7 separate regions of the Homo sapiens genome follow, and all the other regions are linked to region 1. Evidence: promoter capture Hi-C in 16 types of primary human blood cells and fetal thymus (Javierre and others, 2016). All regions are on one chromosome and are shown on one strand. The core of a region is centred on a gene start or on the middle of the fragment in contact, and the rest is flanking DNA. Distances in the headings are between cores, read along the strand shown. Region 1 holds the start of ZNF234 (zinc finger protein 234). Region 2 has its middle 9.2 kb from the start of ZNF132. Region 3 overlaps ZNF135 (zinc finger protein 135). Region 4 overlaps ZSCAN1 (zinc finger and SCAN domain containing 1). Region 5 has its middle 4.4 kb from the start of ZNF548. Region 6 overlaps ZNF805 (zinc finger protein 805). Region 7 overlaps ZNF71 (zinc finger protein 71).

Evidence for each region. Contacts are between HindIII fragments. The CHiCAGO score rates a contact against its expected background, and 5 or more counts as called.
Region 2: a fragment that was not itself captured here is called in contact with the fragment with the promoter of ZNF234 in region 1 in 1 of 17 cell types (total CD8 T cells); the score reaches 6.4 in total CD8 T cells.
Region 3: a fragment that was not itself captured here is called in contact with the fragment with the promoter of ZNF234 in region 1 in 1 of 17 cell types (activated CD4 T cells); the score reaches 7.5 in activated CD4 T cells.
Region 4: a contact is called between a fragment that was not itself captured here and the fragment with the promoter of ZNF234 in region 1, in 1 of 17 cell types (total CD4 T cells). The highest score is 8.0, in total CD4 T cells.
Region 5: a contact is called between a fragment that was not itself captured here and the fragment with the promoter of ZNF234 in region 1, in 1 of 17 cell types (non-activated CD4 T cells). The highest score is 10.3, in non-activated CD4 T cells.
Region 6: a contact is called between a fragment that was not itself captured here and the fragment with the promoter of ZNF234 in region 1, in 4 of 17 cell types (non-activated CD4 T cells, total CD8 T cells, naive CD8 T cells and 1 more). The highest score is 10.2, in non-activated CD4 T cells.
Region 7: a contact is called between a fragment that was not itself captured here and the fragment with the promoter of ZNF234 in region 1, in 2 of 17 cell types (non-activated CD4 T cells and naive CD8 T cells). The highest score is 11.1, in non-activated CD4 T cells.

What each region holds. Positions count from the first base shown.
Region 1 is chr19:44,140,033-44,143,506 of GRCh38, forward strand. ZNF234 (zinc finger protein 234) reads left to right here and starts at 1,522. Exons shown (of 6, transcript NM_006630.3): 1 at 1,522-1,701; 2 at 2,282-2,335. RefSeq lists enhancers at 1,550-1,949, 1,704-2,294, 1,960-2,009. The HindIII fragment of the contact is 9,485 bases long and covers 1-3,474 here.
Region 2 is chr19:58,429,263-58,432,736 of GRCh38, forward strand. It overlaps a transcript of ZNF324B not described here. Among named protein-coding and RNA genes, the nearest start is that of ZNF132, 9.2 kb to the right of the region's middle. The HindIII fragment of the contact is 1,598 bases long and covers 830-2,427 here.
Region 3 is chr19:58,061,023-58,064,496 of GRCh38, forward strand. It overlaps ZNF135 (zinc finger protein 135), which reads left to right. Exons shown (of 5, transcript NM_001289401.2): 3 at 558-684; 4 at 2,424-2,519. Among named protein-coding and RNA genes, the nearest start is that of ZNF135, 3.5 kb to the left of the region's middle. The HindIII fragment of the contact is 676 bases long and covers 1,214-1,889 here.
Region 4 is chr19:58,044,539-58,048,012 of GRCh38, forward strand. All of the region lies in intron 4 of ZSCAN1 (zinc finger and SCAN domain containing 1), which reads left to right. It also overlaps the pseudogene LETM1P2. Among named protein-coding and RNA genes, the nearest start is that of ZSCAN1, 12 kb to the left of the region's middle. The HindIII fragment of the contact is 3,714 bases long and covers 1-3,474 here.
Region 5 is chr19:57,383,671-57,387,144 of GRCh38, forward strand. No RefSeq gene overlaps it. Among named protein-coding and RNA genes, the nearest start is that of ZNF548, 4.4 kb to the right of the region's middle. The HindIII fragment of the contact is 972 bases long and covers 1,273-2,244 here.
Region 6 is chr19:57,251,032-57,254,505 of GRCh38, forward strand. ZNF805 (zinc finger protein 805) reads left to right here. Exons shown (of 4, transcript NM_001023563.4): 4 at 2,042-3,474. Among named protein-coding and RNA genes, the nearest start is that of ZNF805, 12 kb to the left of the region's middle. The HindIII fragment of the contact is 778 bases long and covers 1,456-2,233 here.
Region 7 is chr19:56,603,844-56,607,317 of GRCh38, forward strand. All of the region lies in intron 2 of ZNF71 (zinc finger protein 71), which reads left to right. All of the region lies in intron 2 of ZNF71-SMIM17 (ZNF71-SMIM17 readthrough (NMD candidate)), which reads left to right. Among named protein-coding and RNA genes, the nearest start is that of ZNF71-SMIM17, 10 kb to the left of the region's middle. The HindIII fragment of the contact is 7,069 bases long and covers 1-3,474 here.

The DNA of each region.
Region 1 (3,474 bases), core at 272-2,771:
AAAGAGCGAGGAGTGAGATGCTACACAATTTTAAACAAGCAGATCTCATGAGAACTCTATCAGGAGAACAGCACTAGAGGGATGGTGCTAAACCATTAGAAACCTCCCCGGTGATCCAATCGCCTCCCACCAGGCCCCAACTCCAACACTGGGGATTACATTTCAACATGAGATTTGGGTGGGGACACAGATCTAAACCATATCAATAGGCCAATGTATGTTTATGGGGAGAAAAAAATCTGGTTATCTTTTTTTTTTTTTTTTTTTCCGTGACAGAGTCTTGCTCTGTCGCCCAGGCTGGAGTGCAGTGGCATGATCTCGGCTCACTGCAACCTCTGCCTCTCAGGTTCAAGCGATTCTCCTACCTCAGTCTCCCGAGTAGCTGGAATTACAGGCACGCACCACCATGCCCGGCTAATTTTTGTATTCTTAGTAGATATGGGTTTTCACCATGTTCTCCTGGCTGGTCTCGAACTCTTGACCTCATGGTCCGCCCGCCTTGGCCTTCCCAAAGTGCTGGGATTACAGGCGTGAGCCACCGCACCCAGCCCCTGGTTATCTTGAAGAAAGATTTTAGATGGGTTTTTTTCTGATTTTGCTTTATTCTATTATTTATTTGTATCAACCAATGTAAGCCAGATTCCAAATTGCTAACTATAATGACGATATTTTAACCAAAAAATATAAAGGAAGAAAATAAAATATGTTCCTTCACGTATAGGATCCTCCTTAATGCTACTGCATTAAATAAATCATAGGCATTGGGTGTCTGACATCAATGCCAAGCGCTTCACCAGTTATACTTGCTTTGAAGTATTGGGCAATTTAAGAGCTTCTCTGAAATTTGGTGTTTTTACCTCTTCAGTAGACATAATACCATGAAAAGTGTAAACGAAAGAAGATAGCTTTTCCATGAGGACAGGGCTTCCCCACTGGCCCTCTCAAATGATGATTGTTTTTCCTGCCAAACCAGTGGTACCACAGCGTCTGGAGTAGGGGCTGGCACCTTCTTTGTTCTTCATTGCCTCTCCCAAACCATTGTACTTGCTCACTCTTCCAACTTTTAGTTTTGGCCTCATATTATCAGTTTATAGTAATCAATCATCAATCATCTACTGACCCCTAAAAAGTCATTCCCCATTTAGTCCTTGAAGATTGTATCTCCTCGCTTGTTCTCTTTCCAATAATCCTCCGTAGTCCTGGGAGGCGTTTAGACTTCAGGAATTGCTGTCTATTCAATATTTTCGCTCAAGGACTCAGGCAGAGGGAAGGACGACTCTCAGGGTCACAGTCCACATTCCCTACCAAGCGCTCAGCGATATAGGATTCGTTCCCCATGGGCAGTGCGGGAATCGTAGGCAAGGAGCACCGCGGAGTCCCATCGCTTTTCCCTGAAGGGTGAGATTCTGAACGTTTTTCCCTCAGCATTCTGAGTGTAATCCAAACGCTCAGTGGAGTCGTGGTCCATTTGACCCACGCAGGGGGATCCGGGGAATTCTGGGAAATGTAGTCCCGCCAATCAGTGGAGTCGCGGGCACTTCCGCTCCAGGGAAGAGGGGGCGATTGTCACGGCACATTCCACGGTAGTTTCTTCCAGTTCCGCGACTCGCGGGCCCCTCCTAATGTCAGGGACTTAAGATTGGGGCTCGCTGGGACCTGGTGGTCCGGTTATGGGAAAAGAAGCCTCGTGGGAGAGCAGAGGTTTGGTGGGGCGAGGGCGGCGGCTTTTGTTGTGTCAGCGGAGCCTTCTTGGGCTGGGGCTCCCCTCGTGTCCCGCGGCGGGAGGCGGGGGGCATTGGGACTTGGTTGGGTCGCGTCTCGCCTGGTTTGAGGGTTTCCGGGGCTCTGAGCTCGCCCACTCCGCCTCCCTGCACTCCAGGCGCGCAGTCACTTTTTTACAGTGCAAGGTTGGCGTGTTAATCTCCCTGGGCCTCTCCTTGCTGTTCTTTAAAATGGGGACGTTAGGACCATCTTTGTAGAATCGTTTTGGTAACTGGAATAGGTTACACAACACAAACAGTCCCTGTCACTTGGTGAGTGGTGGTTTCTTGTTACTTTCCCACGAAACCTGTTAGGTCCCCCGGTGGGGTCAGAGCTCCAGCAGCAGGGGCCTCAGCCCTTATCTCTGATCCCTGCAGGACGCTGGACGATCCCGGACGCCTTCTGACCTCTTTTTAGGCAGGCGAGGGTTGCGTCCACTTCCACGAAGGGAGGGGAGCATTTAACTTTTCTCAGGGACAGCGACCCAGTCAGGATGTTTCACAGCTTTCTCCTTCCCCAGCCTGAAAAAGGACTGCGCGGACTGACTTCTTGGCTACTGAAAGCAAAGCTCCACGTGAGTGTGACTTGTCATTTTTCTTTTACAGAGACTGTATCTTTGTAGCATGTGTAATAGGGCATGGGCATTTATAATAATTAAGCCTTAATTGCTAACTTCAATTCTAGGGGATTTATACAATTAGATACGTTTAAGCCGCAACGTGACTCTGTGGAGAGGTACTGGTCATCCAAGTAGTAAGAGGTGAAACTTGGGTTGGAACCTAGGCATTCAGGGTCAGAGCCCGAGTTGATCATCTCTTGGATATATTCTCATTGAGGCAGAGGAACTAGCTGTACTCAGGTGGGGAAAGTAAGTTAGAACTTGATTAAAGGACCTTAAGAGCAAGGCTAATTGCCTTGGAGTTTTCTCAGTTTTTAAAAACTGTCAACTATTTTGTTTCATTTATTACAAATATTTCACATTCTAATAGAACCGTATCACTGTGAAGCATTCAGAAATTACAGAAATACGAAGATACAAAAATTGTAATTACCTATGAAATCAGGATGTAAAGATAGTAATGGTTAAATTTCTAATGCATTTTGTTTTAGTGGTTCCATGTTTATATTACTTATAAATGTTTTACAAAATTTTTATTATACATTTCTCAATGTTTTTCTATTTATCTGCTTATCCATGGAAATTTCCAGATAAAGAGATAATAAACTAGTGACCTGCCATATTCTATCATGCTCATTCTTATTCTTCTCATTATTATTTCTCCTATGACTATTTCCTGATTTTTTAAAAAAACTTTAACACAGTAATTATATAATTTTAAGTCTATAGAAAAGTTGCAAAAATAGTATAAGAGGGCAGGGCATGGTGGGTCATGCCTGAGTCCTGAGTTATGGAACTGAGGCACTCAGGGTCACAGCCCGAGTAATCCCAGCACTTTGGGAGGCCAAGGCCTGTGGATCACTTGAGGCCAGGAGTTTGAGACCCGCCTGGCCAGCATGACAAAAACTCGTCTCTGGCCGGGCGCGGTGGCTCACGCCTGTAATCCCAGCACTTTGGGAGGCCGAGGCGGGCGGATCACGAGGTCAGGAGATCAAGACCATCCTGGCTAACATGGTGAAACCCCGTCTCTACTAAAAATACAAAAAATTAGCCGGGCGTGTTGGCGGGCACCTGTAGTCCCAGCTACTTGGGAG
Region 2 (3,474 bases), core at 379-2,878, about 14 Mb after region 1:
TTGTTATCTCAGAGAGAGACAGGCAGATCCAGGAGTGAGTGATTGAGACTAAACAGATCATTCCTAAGTGTCACATGTAGATGCAAACAATGTCCATGAAGAGAAACCTTTTCTTCTATTTTAGATGGAGTCTCACACTGTCGCCCAGGCTGGAGTGCAGTGGCACGATCTCGGCTCACTGCACACCCTGCCTCCCAGGTTCACACCATTCTCCTGCCTCAGCCTCCTAAGTAGCTGGGACTACAGGCACCCGCCACCACACCTGGCTAATTTTTTGTATTTTTAGTAGAGGTGGGTTTTCACCATGTTAGCCAGGATGGTCTCGATCTCCTGACCTCATGATCTGCCTGCCTCAGCTTCCCAAAGTGCTGGGATTATAGGCATGAGCCACTGTGCCCGGCCAAGAAACCTTTTCTGGAAAGCTCCAGAAGACACCAGCTCAGATCTTAGCAAGAATTGTCATACCAAAATCTAAAGCCATCAGTGGGAAAGAAAATGAAGGTACTCAAAGCCTATGTAATTCTCTCTAGAGAATGGAAAAGGGAGTATAGTCTGCTTTCCCTTAGCACAGTGAGGGAGACTGATACATATCATGAGATCTTGCCAGGTGGCAGAGATGAGACAGTATGGCAGGCAGCTTTGGACATGGCTTCCAATGATCTCTGCCCTCTGGTATTCATGCTCTTGTGTAATGCTCTCCCCTTGACTGTGGGCTGGACCAAGTGACTTGCTTCTAACTAAATTTAGCAAAGATGATGGGATCTCACTTCTGTTATTAGGTTACAAATGACTGACTTGTTGGTATTCTCCACTGCATGATCAGCTTGCAAGCTTTGATTGACAAGCTGCCATTTTGGAGAGGCCCATGTGGCAGAGAACTGGAGGAGGTCTCAGACCAACAGACGGGTCCTCAGTCCAGCAGCCCACAAAAAACTGAATGCTGCCAATTACATGAGTTTGCTTGGAAGCAGAGCCTTCCCTAGTCAAGCCTTCAGATGATACACCCCCAGCTGACATCTTGATGTTAGCCTTGTGAGAAACCCTAAAGAGGAGTCAGCTAGCTGCACCAAAGTTCCTGACCTATAGAGACTGTGAAATAGTGACTATTGTTTTAAGCCACTAGGTTTTGAGTAATTTGTTACACAGCAATAGGTAACTAATACAGATGGCTTCTGCAATAGCAGTAATACAGTGCCGCCTAAGATTCTGGGAGCTGTGGCTTTCCCACATTTGTTGCCCATAACTCTCTTGTGAATTCTCTGGTGATTTTTCTTAAAAGGGGGTGTCTATAGCTGAAGGCTTTCCCATTTTCACTGCATTTGTAATGCCTTTTTCCCATAGGTACTTTATATAGCTTTCTCACATAGGAGAGGTGACTGAAGACCATCCCACATTCCTTAGATGCAGGGGTTTTCTCTACTGTGAATTTTTTGGTTATAGATAAGAATCGATTTCTTCTTGAGGGTCTTTCTTCATACCAAGTATTTAAAGATCTCTCTTCAGTGTGGGTTCTTAGGTGGTTGAAGAGGGCAAAAGTCTTCATGTCTTCCCATAGCCACTGCTCTTGAAGGGCTTCTCCCTATCATGGCCTGCCCGGTGTTATCTGATGTTAGAGCTGTGTGGCAGCATCTTCTCACTCAGCTCTTCTTCATGGCTTCCCTGTGCCATGAGTACTCTGGTGATGGAGAAAGGAAGGCCTTTCCACATTCTCTTTTGAGCTTCTCATTATTCTGGTACTCCAGTGCTGGAAGGGGGTAGTTACCCTGGAAAGCCTTCACAAATGCCTGGCCCTTGAGTCCTCTCACTTATGAATTTTGCTGTGCATGAACTGAAAAGTGCTCTTACTGTGAGCCATGTCACATCTGAAAAGGTGGTCTTCACCATAAATGGTCTACTGTTGGTGAAGGTTTGATCCACTCCCTTGTGTGGGGTTTCTACCTGGAGTACACTGCCTAACGTTCAGCCAGGAGTACAATCTTTGGCAGGGCAAGGGTGCCATGGTCAGGGTGAGGAACGACCAGTCATGGAGTACTGGTCCTGTCACATATCCCACTACTGAGCCTGTTAGGTGACATTCACATAGGCAGGGAGAACAGAGAGGGATCTAGGACAGATGTGGAAGCAGCAGTGGCTACTGAAACTGCTGTTCAGTGATGTGAGCCCAGGCCACCCTTCTTTTCTAGAGATGGGGCCTTGCTATGTTGCCCTGGATGGACTCAACCTCCTGGGCTCAAGAGATCCTCCTGCCTCAGCCTCTCAAGCAGCTAGGACTATAGGTGTGCACCACTGCACCTGGCCAGGCCTCTCCTTTATGGGGACTCCTGTTCACATCCCAGCCAATGCTCTCATGAGTACTTCCTTGTATGGGGGAGGTCAAAGAAACAGCAGCAGCTCACATGTGATGATGCTGAAATTACATGGTAAATAAGCTTTTTAAAATAGGTGCCGGCCAGGTGCGGTGGCTCATGCATGTAATCCCAGCACTTTGGGAGTCCAAGGCAGGCAGATCAGGAGGTCAGGAGATCGAGACCATCCTGGCTAACATGGTGAAAACCCGTCTCTACTAAAAATACAAAAAAATTAGCTGGGTGTGGTGGCGGGCAACTGTAGTTCCAGCTACTCGGGAGGCTGAGGCAGGAGAATGGCGTGAGCCATTTAGGAGGTGGAGCTTGCCGTGAGCCAAAATCGCGCCACTGCACTCCAGCTTGGGCGACAGAGCAAGACTCCATATCAAAAAAAAAAGGTGCCAAACACCATATTCTACAAGGTTCTGGATCTCTAGCTCCTTCTAAAATACCAGCTCTGTCAACTGTGTTAAATGCCCCCATCTGCCTGTGCCCACTCTGTTGGCCAGCAAGACTGTGAAGGCATGAAGTGTGTGTTAGTGACCAGAAACCCTGGCCAGACTGCAAAAACCACTTTCCTGGACGTCAGGCTATCACTTCTCTCAGCTCCCAGTTCCTACCTGGGGAGTGATGGGTGCCAAGATACAGTTTGAGAGAGGTGAAGTGAATGTACATGACATTGCATTTATCTGCTTTAACTGTGGCAAAAACTTTAACATGGCAAATACAAAGGTCTGTAGCTCTGGAGTTGTTCTGCACACCCTCACCCTGCACAGTCCCAGTTGATGGGGAACTATGGCTATTCCTTTGTCCATGATGGCATGTGCCCTAGTTCACCAGTCTACCCAAATCCCTGGTTATTACCTCACATCCAGTGTTTCTCTATGCACATAGAGTCCTCCATGGACCCCTCTAGGTCTTTGCCTTGGTGACCCTGTGACTATTTTAGTGTTGTAGATGAGTTTATTTTTCCTCTGGGTAAGCTCTGGGCCCTACGGTAACTGAAACAGGCCACTATGTTCAATCCAGAGCCTTTCAGTCTTTCCCAGTCTTTCACACAGCAATGCAAAGTAGGCTACAACAGGACAGAGCAACTACCCGCTCTTCTACTGTGCCCTTAGGCAGATTT
Region 3 (3,474 bases), core at 302-2,801, about 14 Mb after region 1:
GAGGCTGAGGCAGGAGAATGGCGTGAACCCAGGAGGCGGAGCTTGCAGTGAGCCAAGATCATGCCACTGCACTCTAGCCTGGGCGACAAAGCGAGACTCCGTCTCGGGGGAAAAAAAAAACCACCCAGATTCAGTCTTTAGACTTCTGCTACTAGCTTTATAACTTTGTTTATCCCCTAGGCTGAAGTGCAGTGATGCAATCATGGCTCACTGTGCTTCAAACTTACGTGCTCAAGTGATCCTCCCACCTCAGCCTGTTAAGCAGCTGGGACCACGGGCATGCGACACCATGCTGGGCTGGTCCACTCCTTTATTGCTGGCTCCCTCCATTTCTTATTTCAAGAGACAAATTATTGGAAACGGGCATGATGCCTTAGATTCTAAGATCCTCCACCTCATCAGCAGGGCACCCATCCAGGCCCCACAGAAAAACCTGACCCAAAACCCCAGACCAAAGGGAACTCCATCCGACCCAGCCTGGCTGGCATTTACCAGCTACCCCACCAGCAGCCAGTGCCAGGGTTGGCTTGGCTGAGGACACTCGTGTGATGTTTCAGGAGCAAGTGACGTTTGAGGACGTGGTAGTGGGCTTCAGCCAGGAGGAGTGGGGGCAGCTGAAGCCTGCCCAGAGGACCCTGTACCGTGATGTAATGCTGGACACCTTCAGGCTTCTGGTCTCTGTGGGTAAGGCCACACCCATGTCCTATCTGTTGATCTGTCCCTGACACGGATTCTGATTCTACCAGGTTAAATATTTATAGGACTGAGCTTTAAAAGCAAATGCCTGGGGCTGTATGTCTTGGGCTTTAAGAACCTGACTGTTTTAATGTAGGAAATATCAATTAAGACCAATATTAGCAAGTCTCAGACTCAACCTGAAATCAACAGAAGCAGAGAAACATGAGGTGAGGGAAACATACTGGGTCTGAAGACTACAGAATCCCAGGGTAGACCAGGGTGTTCTGTAGAGCTGTTAGGAGCCCCTCCTTCTTCAACACCTCCCTCTGCACTTCTGTCTTAGTCTGTTAGGGCTGCTAAAATACCTTAGACTGGGTAATTTTAAACAATAGATATTTGTTGCTCATGGTTCTGGAGGCTGGGAAGCCTAAGATCAAGGTGTCAGCAAATTCAGTGTTTGGTGAGGGCTTGCTCCTCACTGATGGCACTTTCTTCCTGTGTCCTGACATGCCATAAGGGCAAGGGAGTTATCTCAAGCTTCTTTTATAAGGGCACTGATCCCATTCATGAGTGGAGCCCTCATGAATTAATCACTTCCCCAAGGCCCCACCTCAACACTATCAGATTAGGTATTACATTCTAACATTTGAACCTTATTTATTTATTTATTTATTTATTTGTTTTTAAATTTTTTATTTTTGAGACAGAGTCTCGCTGTGTCACCCGGGCTGGAGTGCAGTGGTGCGATCTCGGCTCACTGCAAGCTCTGCCTCCCGGGTTCACACCATTCTCCTGCCTCATCTTCCTGAGTAGCTGGGACTACAGGTGCCCACCACCACGCCTGGCTAATTTTTTTTTTTTTTTGTATATTTAGTAGAGACGGGGTTTCACCGTGTTAGCCAGGATGGTCTCGATCTCCTGACCTCGTGATGCACCCACCTTAGCCTCCCAAAGTGCTGGGATTACAGGCGTGAGCCACTGCGTCCGGCCTGAACCTTTTTTATTTTTAAGAAACAGGGTCTTGTTCTCTTGCCCAGGGTGGAGTGCTGTGGCACAGTCATACTTACTGCACACTTAACCTCCTGGCTCAAGTAAACCTTCCATTTCAGTCTTCCAAGTAGCTGGGACTACAGGTGCATACCACCACACCTAGCTAATTTTTAAAATTTTTGTAGAGACGGGTCCTTGCTGTGTTGCCCAGGCTGCCCTCAAGCTTCTAGGCTAAAGTGATCCTCCCACCTCAGCCTCCCAAAGTGCTGGAATTACAGGCATAAGCCACTATGCATAGCCTGAATTTTAGGGGGACACCAACATTCAGACCATAGCAATCTCTTTCTGGCTTCATTTCCAGAGAGGCTCCTCTGGAGGTGACAAGACAACTGCCTGGGGTGCCTTTCCTGCAACCAAGACCAGCAGAAAAGACAGGATCTGTGTCCCAGGGTTGTCCTGGTTTGGCTGCCAGGTCTTCTTCACAGTGATCATTGATGCCAGTGGGCAGGGGAGGAACCAGAGTTCTGATTGTCCAGGCTTGGGTCACATGTCCACCCCAGAACCAGTGGTAGGGTCAGGGACTGAGAGTAGGGGAATGAGTCCCTGAGGAACATCCAGGGCTGTGGGTATGACAGCTGAAGTCACTCAGGGGTCCCCAGCCATCTGGGACCTGGAAGACCAAAGGTGGAATGGGCTGAGGCTCAGGAAGGGTCCTGGGATACAAATGCTCACTCTATGGGTCTCTCCCTGAGCAGGACATTGGTTACCGAAGCCGAATGTCATCTCCCTGCTGGAGCAAGAGGCAGAGCTGTGGGCGGTGGAGTCTAGACTTCCCCAAGGCGTGTACCCAGGTGAGATGGGAGCCCTTCGGGGCAGAGAGAAGCCTGTCCATGCTTGCTTCCTGGTTTCTCCCTCTGCATCTGCTCTCTAATTCTTCAGAGCAAATTTACTACTCAGTCTTAGTGAAGATTTACCAAGCACCCATTTTGCTGTGAGTGACGACACCACGTCCTCATCTCCACTGAATTTATATTCTTGGTGAGGGAGTGGGGGAAACAAACAATAAATCGGTAAAATAATAATAATAAAACAAGTTGGATGATTACAGATTGTGATGAATGCCGAGAAAATGAAAATGAGCAATGAGGTAGACTAGGAGGGGGATGAGTAGACTTTAGCAGAGAGATGAGGGATAGCCTCTCCAAGGAGGTGACATGTGACTTGAAGCCTGAGCCATGAGGCAGTCTGAGTGAACAGTAGTATTTCAGGCAGAGGAAACAGCAGGTGCAAAGGCCTGAAGTCATGCATCAGTCAGCTTTTGTGTAGGAAAACACTCTGACCTCAGTGGCTTAAACCAAATAATTGTTTATAATTCATGTGTCTGTGGGTCAGTGGATCCAGGCTGGGCCCTACGCCATGTGCCTGTAGGGTGATTGGTAGGTAGCAGAGGTATCCCAGCCCACTGACAGGCAATTTCCCATTGGCATCAGGTGGGAAGAGTGGCCTGTCACCAGAGTCCAGGAGGGATGGCCAGTGTGGGAAAGGGTCACAGTAGGGTCCCTCCACATCAATAACAGCCCTTACCCAATATATTAGCTTCCTATTGCTCCTCCTGCAACCAGTTACAAATGACCCGTGAATAACATGGGTTTGAACTGTGTGGGTCCATTTATACATGGATTTTCTTCTGCCTGAGCCACCCCTGAGACAGCAAGACCAACCCCTCCTCCTACTCCTCAGCCTACTCACTGTGAAGACAATGAGGATGAAGATCTTTATGGTGGTCCACTTCCATTTAATGCATAG
Region 4 (3,474 bases), core at 444-2,943, about 14 Mb after region 1:
GGAGGAGGAGCCAGCGCAGGAGGCCCGAGCGGCCGCCACGCCCGGACACACGGCGTCCATCTTAATGAGGAGCTGCCGCGGCTGGGCGCCCGCCAGCCTCCCGCCGCCGCCTCGGGTCACCGCCCCGCGGGGTAGTCCGGGGGATCCTGCTCATCTCAGCTTGCCAGCACCCTGGGGTTGAGGAGCTGCCCGAAAGTTTCATTTGGCTGCTGCACTCCCACCCACCCTGCCTACCCGTGCTTCAGAGGCGATCACCTCAGCTGTTGGACTCTGAGGCCCGAGTGCCTTCGCACCGTGTCGAGAGCGCCATGGACCTCCACCTCTGTGGGTTTTGTGGTCCTGGGGCCTCGGTGCCTTCCTGCCCGCGGCTGGCACTCTTCGCGCCCTGTTGGTGATGACTCGGTAGTAGAGAAGTCCCTCAAGTCCTTGAAGGACAAGAACAAGAAGCTGGAGGAAGGCGGCCCTGTGTACAGCGCCCCCGCAGAGATGGTGGTGAAGTCCCGGGGGCAGAGAGGGTGCTGGGCGAGCTGAGGCACTACTACCATGGCTTCCGCCTGCTACGGATCCACACCAAGATCGCAGCACGCATGCTCTGGCGCATCCTCAACTGCCACACCCTGACCCGCCAGGCGCGCAGGCAGTTGCTCCGGTTCTGTGCCGACCTCTTCCGCCTGGTGCCGTTCCTCCTGTTCGTGGTGGTGCCGTTCGTGGAGTTTCTGCTGCCTGTTGCTGTGAAACTCTTCCCCAACATGTTGCCATCCACATCCGAGACTCAGTCCATCAAGGAGAAGAGGCTGAAGGAGCTTCAGGTCAAGCTGGAGCTAGCCGAGTTCCTCCAGGACACCATCCAGGAGATGGCCTTGAAGAACGAGGCAGCCAAGGGCAGTGCCACCAAAGACTTCTCTGTGTTTTTCCAGAAGATCCGGGAGACGGGGGAGAGGCCCAGCAATGAGGAAATCATGGGTTTTTCCAAATTATTTGAGGATGAGCTGACCCTTGACAACCTGACACGGCCGCAGCTGGTGGCCCTGTGCAAGCTGCTGGAGCTACAGCTTCCTGCGCTTCCAGCTCACGATGCGGCTGCGCTCCATAAAGGCAGAGGACAAGCTGTTTGCTGAGGAAGGGGTGGACAGCCTGAACGTCAAGGAGCTGCAGGCGGCATGTCGGGCACGAGGCATGCGGGCCCTGGGCGTCAGGGAAAACCACCTGAGGGGCCAGCTGAAGCAGTGGCTGGACCTGCACCTGCATCAGGAGATCCCCACATCGCTGCTCATCCTGTCCCGGACCATGTAGCTCCCGGACACCCTCTTGCCAGCCGACCAGCTCAAGTCCACACTGCAGACTCTCCCAGAGATTGTGGCAAAGGAAGCACAGGTGAAAGTGGCCGAGGTGGAGGGCAAGCAGGTGGACAAGGCCAAGCTAGAGGCCACACTGCAGGAGAAGGCGACCATGCAGTAGGAGCACCGCGAGAAGGAGCTGCAGAAGCATTCGGAGGTGGCGAAGGATGTTGAACCCGAATGTGTGGAAGGCGCTCCCCAAAGGCCAGGGGCCCAGCCCCAGCCAGAAGTGCCTGACACTGTCCTGCAGTCAGAGACCATGAAGGACACTGCCCCCGTGCTAGAGGGCTTGAAGGAGGAAGAGATGACTAAGGAGGAGATCAGCATCCTCAGCAATGCCTGCTCTAAGCTGCAGGAACAGAAGAAGTCACTCACCAGGAAGAAGGAGGAGCTGGAGCTGCTGAAGGAGGACATGCAGGACTACAGCGAGGACTTGCAGGAGCTCAAGAAGGAACTTTCAAAGACTGGTGAAGAAAAATACATGGAAGGATCTAAAGCCAGCAAGAGATTGACAAAAAGGGTGCAGCAGATAATCGGGCAGATCAACGGCTTGATCTCGCAGCTGGAGATGGACCAGTGGGCCAGCAAGCTGGCCCCGGCCAAGGGCGTGCCCATGGGGGAGAACGTCATCAGTGTTGCCGAGCTCATCAACGCCATGAAGCAAGTCAAGCACATTCCCAAAAGCAAGCTCACCAGCCTGGCCGCAGCACTGAATGAAAATAAGGATGGCAAGGTCAACGTCGACCACCTCATCAAGGTGATTGAGCTGGTGGACAAAGAAGATGTTCACGTCTCCACCAGTCAGGTGGCCGAGATTGTAGCAACACTGGAAAAAGAGGAGAAAGGGTGGAGAAGGAGAAGGTGGAGAAGGAGGTTGCAGAGGTGAAGAGCTAGAGCCACTGGCGTGGGCACCTGTCCTCCTGCTGCACTGCCACCCTGGTGAGGGCTGTGAGAGCGATTTGCGGTGATTCTTAGTGGCTCATCTAATACTTTGGCTGGAATAAATCAGAGACTTCCATAATCAAGTAAACTGTAATTTTCATCATTCCACGGAGCTTCAATCTGTCTGGAGTCCCAGAATCCCTCCACAGAATCCTGTCTGGATCCACACTGTGGTGTGGCTGCCACGGCCTCCTGGCTCCAGAGGCGGCTGGGCCAAGGCAGGAAGGTGCCCCCCTGTGTGTGGCCTCACGTCTCAGTGTCTGACTGTGCTGCCCTGTGCCCAGGGAGGAGAATGAGGACCACATGGACTCTGCCCACACGGAGCTGGCTGCTACGCCCACCCTCAGAGGCGTCAGGAGACACAGCCTGGCCCCCTCAGGGCTGAAGATGCCTCCATTCACCTGTGGACCTTGCTTTCTAGATTTCAGCATCAATAGACCTGTCTTCCTGCATGCTTTTAGTTGGATCTGGGTCACTGTGGAGACAGAGGTATCTGCCATCTCTGTGGCCTCTGGAGAGTGACGTCTCCCTGCTGGCAGGGCCGGTTCTCACCTGCAGTTTTCCTTGTGTATCGGAGCTCTTTCTTAACTTTCTATTTTCCCCCAATTCTTTAAGCAGTCGATTGGCACAGAGTTTTCCCACGCTGGTCGGCCTGCCCCAAGAGCCATCTCTGACCCAAGCCACGCAACTCTGACGTAGCCCTAGCCATGGGACTCCCTTGGGTGGTGCTTGGGCTGCGCGCCACGGGGGCTGCAGTGGATTTACTGTGTCAGGGATGAGCCTGGCTCGGGTTGGTGGGGCTCTGAAGCACATTTGGGGTTCTTTGTAGCTTCTAATGTGAGGTTTGAGTCCAGTGCACCCACAGCAGCATACCCTTCTCACCCCTTGTGGTGTTGCAGGCTCAGGCCCCTGGGGTCCTTTAACAAGCAGGCTGGTCACCGAGGCACGAAGACGAGGCACAGGGCATCCCCTGGGGCTTCAAGGGCAACACCCGCAGTGCTTAGGGTTTACCCTGTGCCCTCTGGGTGGGGTGGCCTCCCTGCACTCGGCAGCATGGTCGGGCTGGCGAGGGCGTGGGCAGGCAGTGTCCTGTGGCCACCTCCACCCTCCTGCCCAGCCGGCTGTGTCACACTCATATTTTTAAGGTCAGGTTGGTTCCTGGTAAAAATGTCCCTCCGGGGGCCTCCAAGCATAG
Region 5 (3,474 bases), core at 509-3,008, about 13 Mb after region 1:
AACATGAACTTACCAAAACATCCCCCAGAAATCCCCTGGTCTCAGACATAACTCTCTATGCTTCCCATTCCATGGCAGCAACTCAGCCTAACTCATCCAAAGCAAAAAAGCAATCCCTTCTTGCTTAAGTGACACAAGGATCCCCAGATGAACAAGTAGCTGTATCACCCTTCAATTAAATGTAATAATATTTACTTCTGGTGGAACCTCTCCTTCCTTGGAACAAAGGGCCCCCAACCAGCAGAATTTACAATTAAGAAGAAGTGGCCAGACACAGTGGCTCAAGCCTGTAATCCCAGCACTTTGGGAGGCCGAGGCAGGCAGATCATAAGGTCAGGAGTTCGAGACCAGCCTGGCCAACATGGTGAAACCCTATCTCTACTAAAGATACAAAAAATTAGCTGTGCGTGGTGGTGCGTGCCTGTAATCACAGCTACTCGGGAGGCTGAGGCAGGAGAATTGCTTTAACCCGGGAAGAGGGGGTTGCAGTGGGCTGAGATCATGCCATTGCACTCCAGCCTGGGCGACAGGGCAAAAAAAAAAATTAGCCGGGCATGGTGGCGGGCGCCTATAATCTCAGCTATTCAGGAGGCTGAGGCAGAAGAATCGCTTGAAGCCGGGAGGCAGAGGTTGCAGTGAGCTGAGATCGCGCCAATGCACTCCAGCCTGGGTGACAGAGCAAGATTCTGTCTCAAAAAAAAAAAAAGAAAAAAAGAAAAAAGAAGAAGGGTAGCAGAAATTCTGTGAATGAGTTACTAGGTTCAAAAATGAGGATGCTCAATATAATGCATAGGTTCAGAAAAAAATTACGATGAAAAGAATTGTCAAATTTTGTAACTGATACTTGACCTGGTTAAATTTGAATTATTTCTAATTCCCTATGTATATGTGCAGTGAGATAAAAGATAAATATTGTATGTGACATACTCATCATAAAATTATTTGTTGTTTATCTGAAATACATTCTAAATCAGGGGTCCCCAACCCCTGGGGCCACAGATGAGTACTATGGCCTGTTAGGAATGGGGCCATATAGCAGAGGGTGAGTGGCAGATGAGTGAGCATTGCTGCCTGATCTCCGCCTCCTGTCAGATCGGCAGCAGCATTAGATTCTCATAGGGGTGCAAACCCTACTGTGAACTGCACAAGAGAGGGATCTAGGTTGTATGCTCCTTATGAGAATCTAATGCCTCTGAAACCATCTGCCCCCAAACCCCTCTCCCTTATCCATGGAAAAATTGTCTTCCACAAAACCGGTCCCTGGTACTAAAAAGCTTGGGGATCACAGTTCTAATGACATAACTCTTTCCCTGATAATTTGCTTCTACTTAACAATTCCTTGTTTTATATAATTTGCTTACAGAATTCCTGCAGTTACAGTCTTGATGCCATTTATGTTGTGACAAACCTTCGTCATTTGTCATATTCAACTTATTTCATTCCTTTATCTATTGGACATTCATTAATGAGAAACACACTCAACAGTAGCATTCTGAGCCTAAAGACTCATGATGATAAACAGTGTAGAAAACATTACAAACTCTATTATAATTATTCTACCATCTCCATCTGATTTTAACAAAAAAGTTATTTTGTCTCTTTCTTTGGAACTAGTTGAGAAAATCATGCACCTTCCAAAGTTAATATATATTTGACTGTCCACCATTTTCATTAGTCAATGGGCAATTACATAGAGTCGAAGACCTTCAAAGGGAATTTTAAATACTCCTCAGTTCATCATAAATTATAAACTTGCATTTTGACATTTTTTGCATTCAATATACTCAAAATATAGACAATAGCAACTTCTACAAGAGTTGAAAAACATTGTGGGTACAGTGGCTCATGCCTGTAATCGCAGCACTTTGGGAGGCCTAGGCGGACAGATCACTTGAGGTCAGGAGTTCGAGACCAGTATGGCCAACATGGCGAAACCCCATCTCTAATAGAAATACAAAAAATTAGCCAGGCATGGTGCCACGCGCCTGTAATCCCAGCTACTTGGGAGGCTGAGGCATGAGAATCACTTGAACCTGGGAGCCAGAGGTTGCAGTGAGCCGAGATTGCGCCACTGCACTCCAGCTGGGTGACAGAGTGAAACTGTATCTTAAAAAAAAAAAAGAAAAGAAAGAAAAAAGAAAACACTGGAGAAAACGTTGGATTTTACAATGTATGTCTGGGTCAGTTAGTCTACCATTTCATATCCAAACTCATAACTAATTACAAACAGATGGAACCATTGAAAGCTTGCAAACTTTTAAATTATATTCATATAATTAAAATATAAGTAATAATTTATATTCAATTAAGAATAAATGGGGCCAGGCGTGGTGGCTCATGCCTGTAATCCCAGCACTTTGGGAGGCCGAGGCAGGCGGATCATGAGGTCAAGAGATCGAGACCATCCTGGCCAACATGGTGAAATCCCGTCTCTACTAAAAATACAAAAAAATTAACTGGGCGTGGTGGCGTGCATATGTAGTTCCAGCTACTTGAGAGTCTGAGGCAGGAGAATCACTTGAACCGGAGAGGCGGAGGTTGCAGTGAGCCGAGATCACACCACTGCACTCCAGCCCAGCGACAGAGTGAGACTCCGTCTCAAAAAAAAAAAAAAGAATAAATAGATTTTGATATCTCAAGGGAAAAAAAGTGATATTCCTATTTGTCTGCAGGGCAGAGCTGTAGTGGTCAGGCAGTCTCCTCAAACAAAGCCAAAACTGCTATTATATGAGCTTTTAGGAAGGCTGGCCTTCAGGGACTGAGGACTTTCAGAAGCAGCAGAGTTGAAAGACTGATGGACTTTCAGGTATGTTAGTGTAAATGCAACCATTTACCAACTGGCTTTCATAAACAGGATTACTGACAGGAGGCACTTGTGGATTAGTTGTTGCCAGCAGCCTGGGGCTGCCACTGATTGACCATCTTTAGTACTGGGCCTTACCCCCATTGGAAAAATTTTAGAATCTTGGCCTAACAATGATTTGCTAAGTTTCTGGTTAATTACTGGGGTGAAGCTTTTGCTGACTAGCTGACTTTTAAAGCATAGGTACACATCCCAAGTTATCTCTAATTAATGGTGGTTTCTTGTTTATGATTATGGATTTGGGGCAGAGATAAATTTTTTCCTTACTTGAACATAAGCCAGCAACTTAATTCTCATTCCCCATTTTTGGTTTCCCAACAGCCAGAATTTGTAAGAAATCATATGCTATGGTTTGGATGTTTGTCTCTTCCAAAGCTCATGTTGAAATTTAATTTCCAATGTTTGAGGTGGGGCCTAATAGGAGGTGTTCTGGTCATGAGGGTAGATCCTACCTGAATACCCCCACTTGAAGATGTGTAAATTCTCACTCTATTAGTTCCCAAGAAAGCTGGTTGTTGAAAAGAGCCTGATACACTCCCCACCCACTGTCCTCCTCTCTTGCAATATGATTCCTTCGCATTATAGCTCTCTTTCGTTTTCCACCATGAATA
Region 6 (3,474 bases), core at 595-3,094, about 13 Mb after region 1:
TCATTCACTGTCTGAGCACTTAATTGTTTACATGTTTTTATATCAGTGATGCTGTGGACATTTATGTATGTTGTTCATCTTTCACATGTGTAGGGACACATTTTTGATGTTTCTGGAGTGAAATAATTGGATTATAGATTATGCAAATGTTCTAGTTTGCAAGATCATTCTCATTGTTTTCTAAAGGGCCTATATCAAAAAATTCCTCTCAGGAATTTTTGGAAGGTTCCATTGATCCATATCCTATCTAATACTTGAAACTATAAGGCCCCTCAATTTTTGCCGATTAAATGGACACAAAATATTATCTGTTGTGCTCTTGATTTGCATTTTCCTCATTGGTAGGGTGGTTTAGTGTCTTTCATGATTCTGAGCCAATCTATATTTTCTTCTGTGAGATGTTATTTGGTGATAAATGCCTTTTTTTCAATTAACTTCTTTGGCTTTCTCTTTTTGATTTTATTTTTGTACATTATAGATACCTATCTTTTATCAGTTACATTTGCTGCCGGTATATTCTTCTAGTTTTTAATTTTGTCCTTCCACTCTTTTTAAAGTATCTTTTGTTCAATGAGTTCCTTACATAGCGTAGTCTGATTTATGTTTTTTTTTTACGTGATTAATGATTTTGTACCTTGTGGAAAAAATGTTGCTTTACCCTAATGTCAAAAAGGTATTCTTGTTTATTTTATTGTAAGTTGTAAAACTTGCCATTTGGCATTCAAGTCTTTATCAATCTGAAGTTGATTTTGAGTATAGAATGTGATAGAATACAATATTTCCATTCCCCGTGTTGGTAGCCAATTTTTCTAGCTCTAATTCCTTAGTAGTCTCTCATCACTGAGGTGCTGTGCCTCTTTGCCATCTACCAAAGCCCCATCTATGTGCAAGGGGATTTCTGAGCTCTCTGTTCTTCTTTATTCCCAGTTTGCATTATGTCTGTGCCAGAGTGGTACCTCTGCCTTATGAGCTCTGTCCTGAGAGTGGCACTGCTCTTCACAGCTGTCACCTAGGTCAGAATCTTGGGAATCAGTCCCCCTGTGCCTCATCTTTCCCTAGATTCTCATCACCACCACCCTCTCATGCACTGTAGCTCATTTGCATATTCTTTCTCCTAAGGCTATAGTGTCTTTCTCACATTCTCTCGTGACAAGTGGGACTTACTTCACTGGGTACCTTCTATTGGAAAACTGCCTTGATCTTTTTCTACCCAGGATTAGCCAAACTCAAGATAAGGACACAGTCCTCCAGGACTTTGTCAAGTCTACCCAAATCCTCTTAATTCCAACTGCAAATTCAGGGATTTCCTGAAACCAACCTTAGGTTTCATAACTTGCTAAAAAGACTCACAACACTTTCTAAAACCTATTATACTCACAGTTTTGTTTATTACAGACAAAGCATACAAATTAGAAGAGGACACGGGATGTGGGGCTGAAGGGGTTCCAAACACAAAGCTTCCTCAGTAACTTGTTACCCACCCAGCATTGAGTGTAAAATATGTGCACAGAGCATTGCAAACCCAGGAAACTCACTGGAGCTCTGGTTTTTAGAGTTTGTTGAGCTTCATTACACAAGCACGGTTAATCGAGACATTGCCCACATTGCCATGTGAAGTTTCCAGCCTTCGTCCCTTTTCCAGAGTTCAGCTGATATCTTGTGGCTCAGAGACCTAACCTTCTACTCACTGGTTGGTCTTTCTGGTGCCACCAGACCTCAGCCAGAGTCATCTATTTAGGATAAACTATTTAGGTACCTATAATGAGTTACCTTTATATAAATATTTAGTCTGGAATTGAAGCGATATCTCCACTCTAGGCCCTGTCCCCTCACCTGGTCTCTCTGCCTGGTCTCCCTTTCAAGGAGTCAGGAATCCAAGGAAAATAAAAGAAACAAATTATAGATCTGGGGTTCAAGATGGCAAAATATAACAGACATAAAGGCACCATTTATAACTTCATTTTTTTTACTGAAGTGGTGAGTTTGTTTCTTCTCTTTTTACATTACTAACAAGCCCTTCTGTGTGTTGGATTTCTTTCAGGTGACAAAGGAAAACCCAAGAGCACAGAACCTACCACCTGTGAGCTAGCCTTGTCTGAAGGAATCTCTTTTTGGGGACAACTAACACAAGGAGCTTCAGGGGACTCCCAGTTGGGGCAACCCAAGGATCAGGATGGGTTTTCAGAAATGCAGGGAGAACGCTTGAGACCAGGGTTAGATTCCCAAAAGGAGAAGCTTCCTGGAAAAATGAGCCCCAAACATGATGGTTTAGGGACAGCTGATAGTGTGTGTTCAAGGATTATACAGGATCGAGTCTCCTTAGGAGATGATGTCCATGACTGTGACTCACATGGATCAGGTAAAAATCCAGTTATTCAGGAAGAGGAAAATATCTTTAAATGCAATGAATGTGAAAAAGTGTTTAACAAGAAACGCCTGCTTGCTCGGCATGAGAGGATTCACTCTGGAGTGAAGCCCTATGAATGCACAGAGTGTGGAAAAACCTTTAGCAAGAGTACATACCTCCTGCAGCACCACATGGTCCACACTGGGGAGAAGCCCTATAAGTGCATGGAGTGTGGGAAGGCTTTTAATCGGAAGTCACACCTTACCCAGCACCAGCGGATTCACAGTGGAGAGAAGCCTTATAAGTGCAGTGAATGTGGAAAGGCCTTCACCCACCGCTCCACTTTTGTCTTGCATAACAGGAGCCACACTGGAGAAAAACCCTTTGTGTGCAAAGAGTGTGGCAAAGCCTTTCGAGATAGGCCAGGTTTCATTCGACACTACATCATCCACAGTGGTGAGAATCCCTACGAGTGCTTCGAATGTGGCAAGGTCTTCAAACACAGATCATACCTCATGTGGCACCAGCAGACTCATACCGGGGAGAAGCCCTATGAGTGCAGTGAATGTGGGAAGGCCTTCTGTGAGAGCGCAGCGCTGATTCACCACTATGTCATCCACACTGGAGAGAAGCCCTTTGAGTGCCTCGAGTGTGGGAAGGCTTTCAACCACCGATCCTACCTCAAAAGGCACCAGCGGATTCACACTGGGGAGAAGCCATATGTGTGTAGTGAATGCGGAAAGGCCTTCACCCACTGCTCTACTTTCATCTTGCATAAAAGGGCCCACACTGGAGAAAAACCTTTCGAGTGCAAAGAGTGTGGGAAAGCCTTTAGCAATAGGGCAGACCTCATTCGCCACTTCAGCATCCACACTGGAGAGAAGCCCTATGAGTGCATGGAGTGTGGAAAGGCCTTCAACCGCAGGTCAGGCCTCACAAGGCACCAGCGGATTCATAGTGGAGAGAAGCCCTATGAATGCATCGAGTGTGGGAAAACATTTTGCTGGAGCACAAACCTCATTCGACACTCTATCATCCACACTGGAGAGAAGCCGTATGAGTGCAGTGAATGTGGAAAGGCCTTCAGTCGCAGCTCGTCCCTCACTCAGCATCAAAGGATGCATACT
Region 7 (3,474 bases), core at 417-2,916, about 12 Mb after region 1:
CTGTCTGGTTTCAGCGTTTTCCCTGTGGTGAAATGGTTTGTGTCATTAGACAGGAAACCGAAAAAGATGGAGTACTAGAAAAAGGGGCCTTGGACACGTACGTGCAGAGAACTCAGAGGCCCTTTGTTAGCACTTCTGTCCCAACACGATGGGCTCCCAGACCTGGAAGGCTGTGTTCTGTGTCTCAGCACAACCCTGGTGCCAGTCTGGGCTTGGTGCCTGGAGACTGCTCAGTGAATAGTTGAGTGAATTAGGTGGGTGTACTTAGGGAAGACTTCCAGAAGGAATTGTTGTATTACAATTTTGTAAAATAAATAAATATAGGTGTGAGAGGGAACTTTTGGAGGTAATGGATCCGTTTATGGCCTTGATGGTGGTGATGGTTCCACGGGTGTATATGCATCTGCAAACTCATCAAGTTATGTATATTATTAAATATGCACAGCTTTTTATATATCAGTCACACCTCAATCAAGTAGTTTAAATTTTTAGAAAAGGAGGAATTATTAGCTGGGCTGGCTGAAAGATACATTGGGCCAAAAGGTCAAATAATATCATATAAGGATCTACAGTTGTACATAAGATATATATTAAATATCAACATTAAATAATAGCAAGAGTCGACATTTACTGAGAGCTTCCTCCATCACACGAGGCACTGTGTTTGGACCATATTTGTACACATTTAACCTTACGACCCTGTGGAGGGGGACATTGTTATCAGGAAGCCTGCCTCTCATATGAGGCTTAGAAAGAGAAAGACAGTTGTCCAAGGAAACACAGCTCATGAGGGGCAGAGCCAGGATTCCGTTGCAGAGTGTGGTTCCTGAGCCTACACTCTGAACCACCAGCCCAACTGCTTTCTATCAAAGGTGACCCCTCAGGCAGAGGAGGCTATCTTGAGCCCAAGCCCCAGAAGGGCACCCTAGGACCATAGAGGGACTAGCCAGCGGGGGTGAGGCCTCCCCTTGGGATTCAGTTGGTGGTGGGGACACTCAGTATGCTGGAGAGAGCCAGTGAGCTCTGAGTGTCAGTAACAATAGCTGGCACTTATTGAGTGCCTGCTGTATGCTATGCATTACCATTCTGAGTGTCTTACATAAATAAGTGGGCAGGTGGGGCCTGTAGCAAATTGGAGCTTTCTTGCCCCATCAAAGGGTCAGCCACCACTCAGCTCCAGCCTAGAGTGGCCAGATATTCTGCTGTTTAAAGAGAAACTAGAAATTCATTTTCTTGGTAAATTGTGGATGTGTTTTTCATGTGAGTAACAATTAAAAACAATTTTGAAACCCCCATAGGAGCAAAATAGAAATGTGTACAGCTGGCTTCAGGCCCAGGTACATCTCATATGCTCTGTGTGCTCAGAACTCCCGTTCTTTCCTTGTGCCTTGGGGGTTGTACCACTGAATCAGTTCAGAACAGCAGGTCCCTCTGTAGGACACAATAGGTCTCTCATTACTCACATGCCATGCTGTGAGGAAGCCCAAGCAGCCACAAGGAAAAGTGATGTGGAGAAAAAGAGATGCCCACCAAGGCCTCAGCTGTGCCATCCATACCAGCTCAAGAGACAGACTTGTAAACAAAGAAGCTAGCAGACTACTCTAGCCCAGCTGCCATCCAACTGCCACCACACAAGAGATGCCAGGCACGAACTGCCCAGCTGAGCCCATCAACCCCAAAATAGTAATAAATTGTTGTTTTTGAGCCATTAAGTTCTGAGATGGCTGCTACCCAGCAAAATATAACTGGATCAGAAATTTAATCTGTGGCCATGGCTCAAGATCTTCATGTGGCAGAGTCATGCATGGATGATGTGATCAGCCAGCAATAATGTGAGACGTGCAGGCCTTCATCACACTAGGGAGGAGGTCGACTGTCAAGCACCATCTCTGGAAGTGGCTTCAGGATCGCTTGTGATCTGTCTGGAAGAGAAGCGCCAGCTGGGACACTCTGTGATATTTATCCAACTGTCTTCTTTATAGGCAAAAGACGTGCCATCCATCTCAGGGTCTGATCCAAACTAAACTGCTCCTTGGCTGTGATGCCAGCTAGATTGGTATTATACATGGATGAGGCCATCTAATGTTGGGGCTGAGAGTTGAACTGACTAGGTTTAAAATGCTGCCACTCCCATCTGTGTGACCTCTTGTGCCTCAGTCTCCCCCTTTGTAAAAGAAATGAGCTCATAAAAGTGCCTACATAGTAGGGTTCTTTTGAAGATTAAGTGAGATGGTGTGTGCAGTGGGCTTAGAACAATACCTGGCATGTAGTATGTGCTTAATGAACATTAGTTATTTTTATCATTATTTACTAATGAATTAGTATGGAAGAAACCTGGTGCCAATACCATGTCTGTCTTATTCACAGTTGTATGCCCAGTGCCTGGTGCATGGCAGGCACTTAATAAATATTCGTCAAATGAATACATGAAAGGGTGAAGTATCACTCTGTGTGTTTCCAGGAACCATCAATGAACATATTTAGAATATGTTAGAATATGTATTAGATACCATTGATCTAGAATTCCTGTTTAGGGGGTAAAAATTCAACCATACTTTTCTGGTAGCCCGGAAAATTATAAATTAATCAGTTAAATTTCCGATCCAGTTATATTTTGCTGGGTAGTAACCATCTCAGAACTTAATGGCTCAAAAACTACAATTTATTACTATTTTGGGGTTGATGGGCTCAGCTGGGCAGTTCGTGCCTGGCATCTCTTGTGTGGTGGCTGTTGGATGGCAGCTGGGCTAGAGTAGTCTGCTGGCTTCTTTGCTCACATGTCTGTCTCTTGCTGTGGTATGGATGGCACCGCTGAGGCCTTGGTGGGCATCTTTTTTTTTTCCACATGGATTTTCCTTGTGGCTGCTTGGGCTTCCTCACAGCATGGCATGTGAGTAATGAGACATAATGAGACACCTGTTGTGATGACTGGCTTCTCCCAGAGCAAGTGTTCCAGGAGGCTGAGGCAGGAGCTGGAAGTCTTCTGTGATCTAGCCTGAGAGTCCCAGAACATTACCTCTGCCAGATTCTATTGGTCAAGCAGGTCCCTAAGGCCAGCCCACATTCAAGGATGGGGGAACTAGACTCCACTAGTGAAGGATTTGAGGCCATTTTCAACAAGTCTACCCACTTACTATTGTCTACCAAAGCTGACTTATATTGAAAGAGACAGTGAAAATGGGTAATTTGATCCAGCAAAATATAACTGTATCAGAAATTTAACTGGTGTTTTAATTTACAATTTTCTGGGCTACCAGAAAAGCATGGTTGAATTTTTACCCCCTAAACAGGAATTCTAGATCAATGGTATCTAATACGTATTCTGATATATTCTAAATATGTTCATTGATGGTTCTTGGAAAGGTACCTGCATTTTCCTTGCTTGGGCAGCAGGACTGGGCATTTCTGATTCACAGCCCTGAGTATGATAATTGAGAGTATGAGAGTTGTATGCTCATTTTGGGCAAATACTCA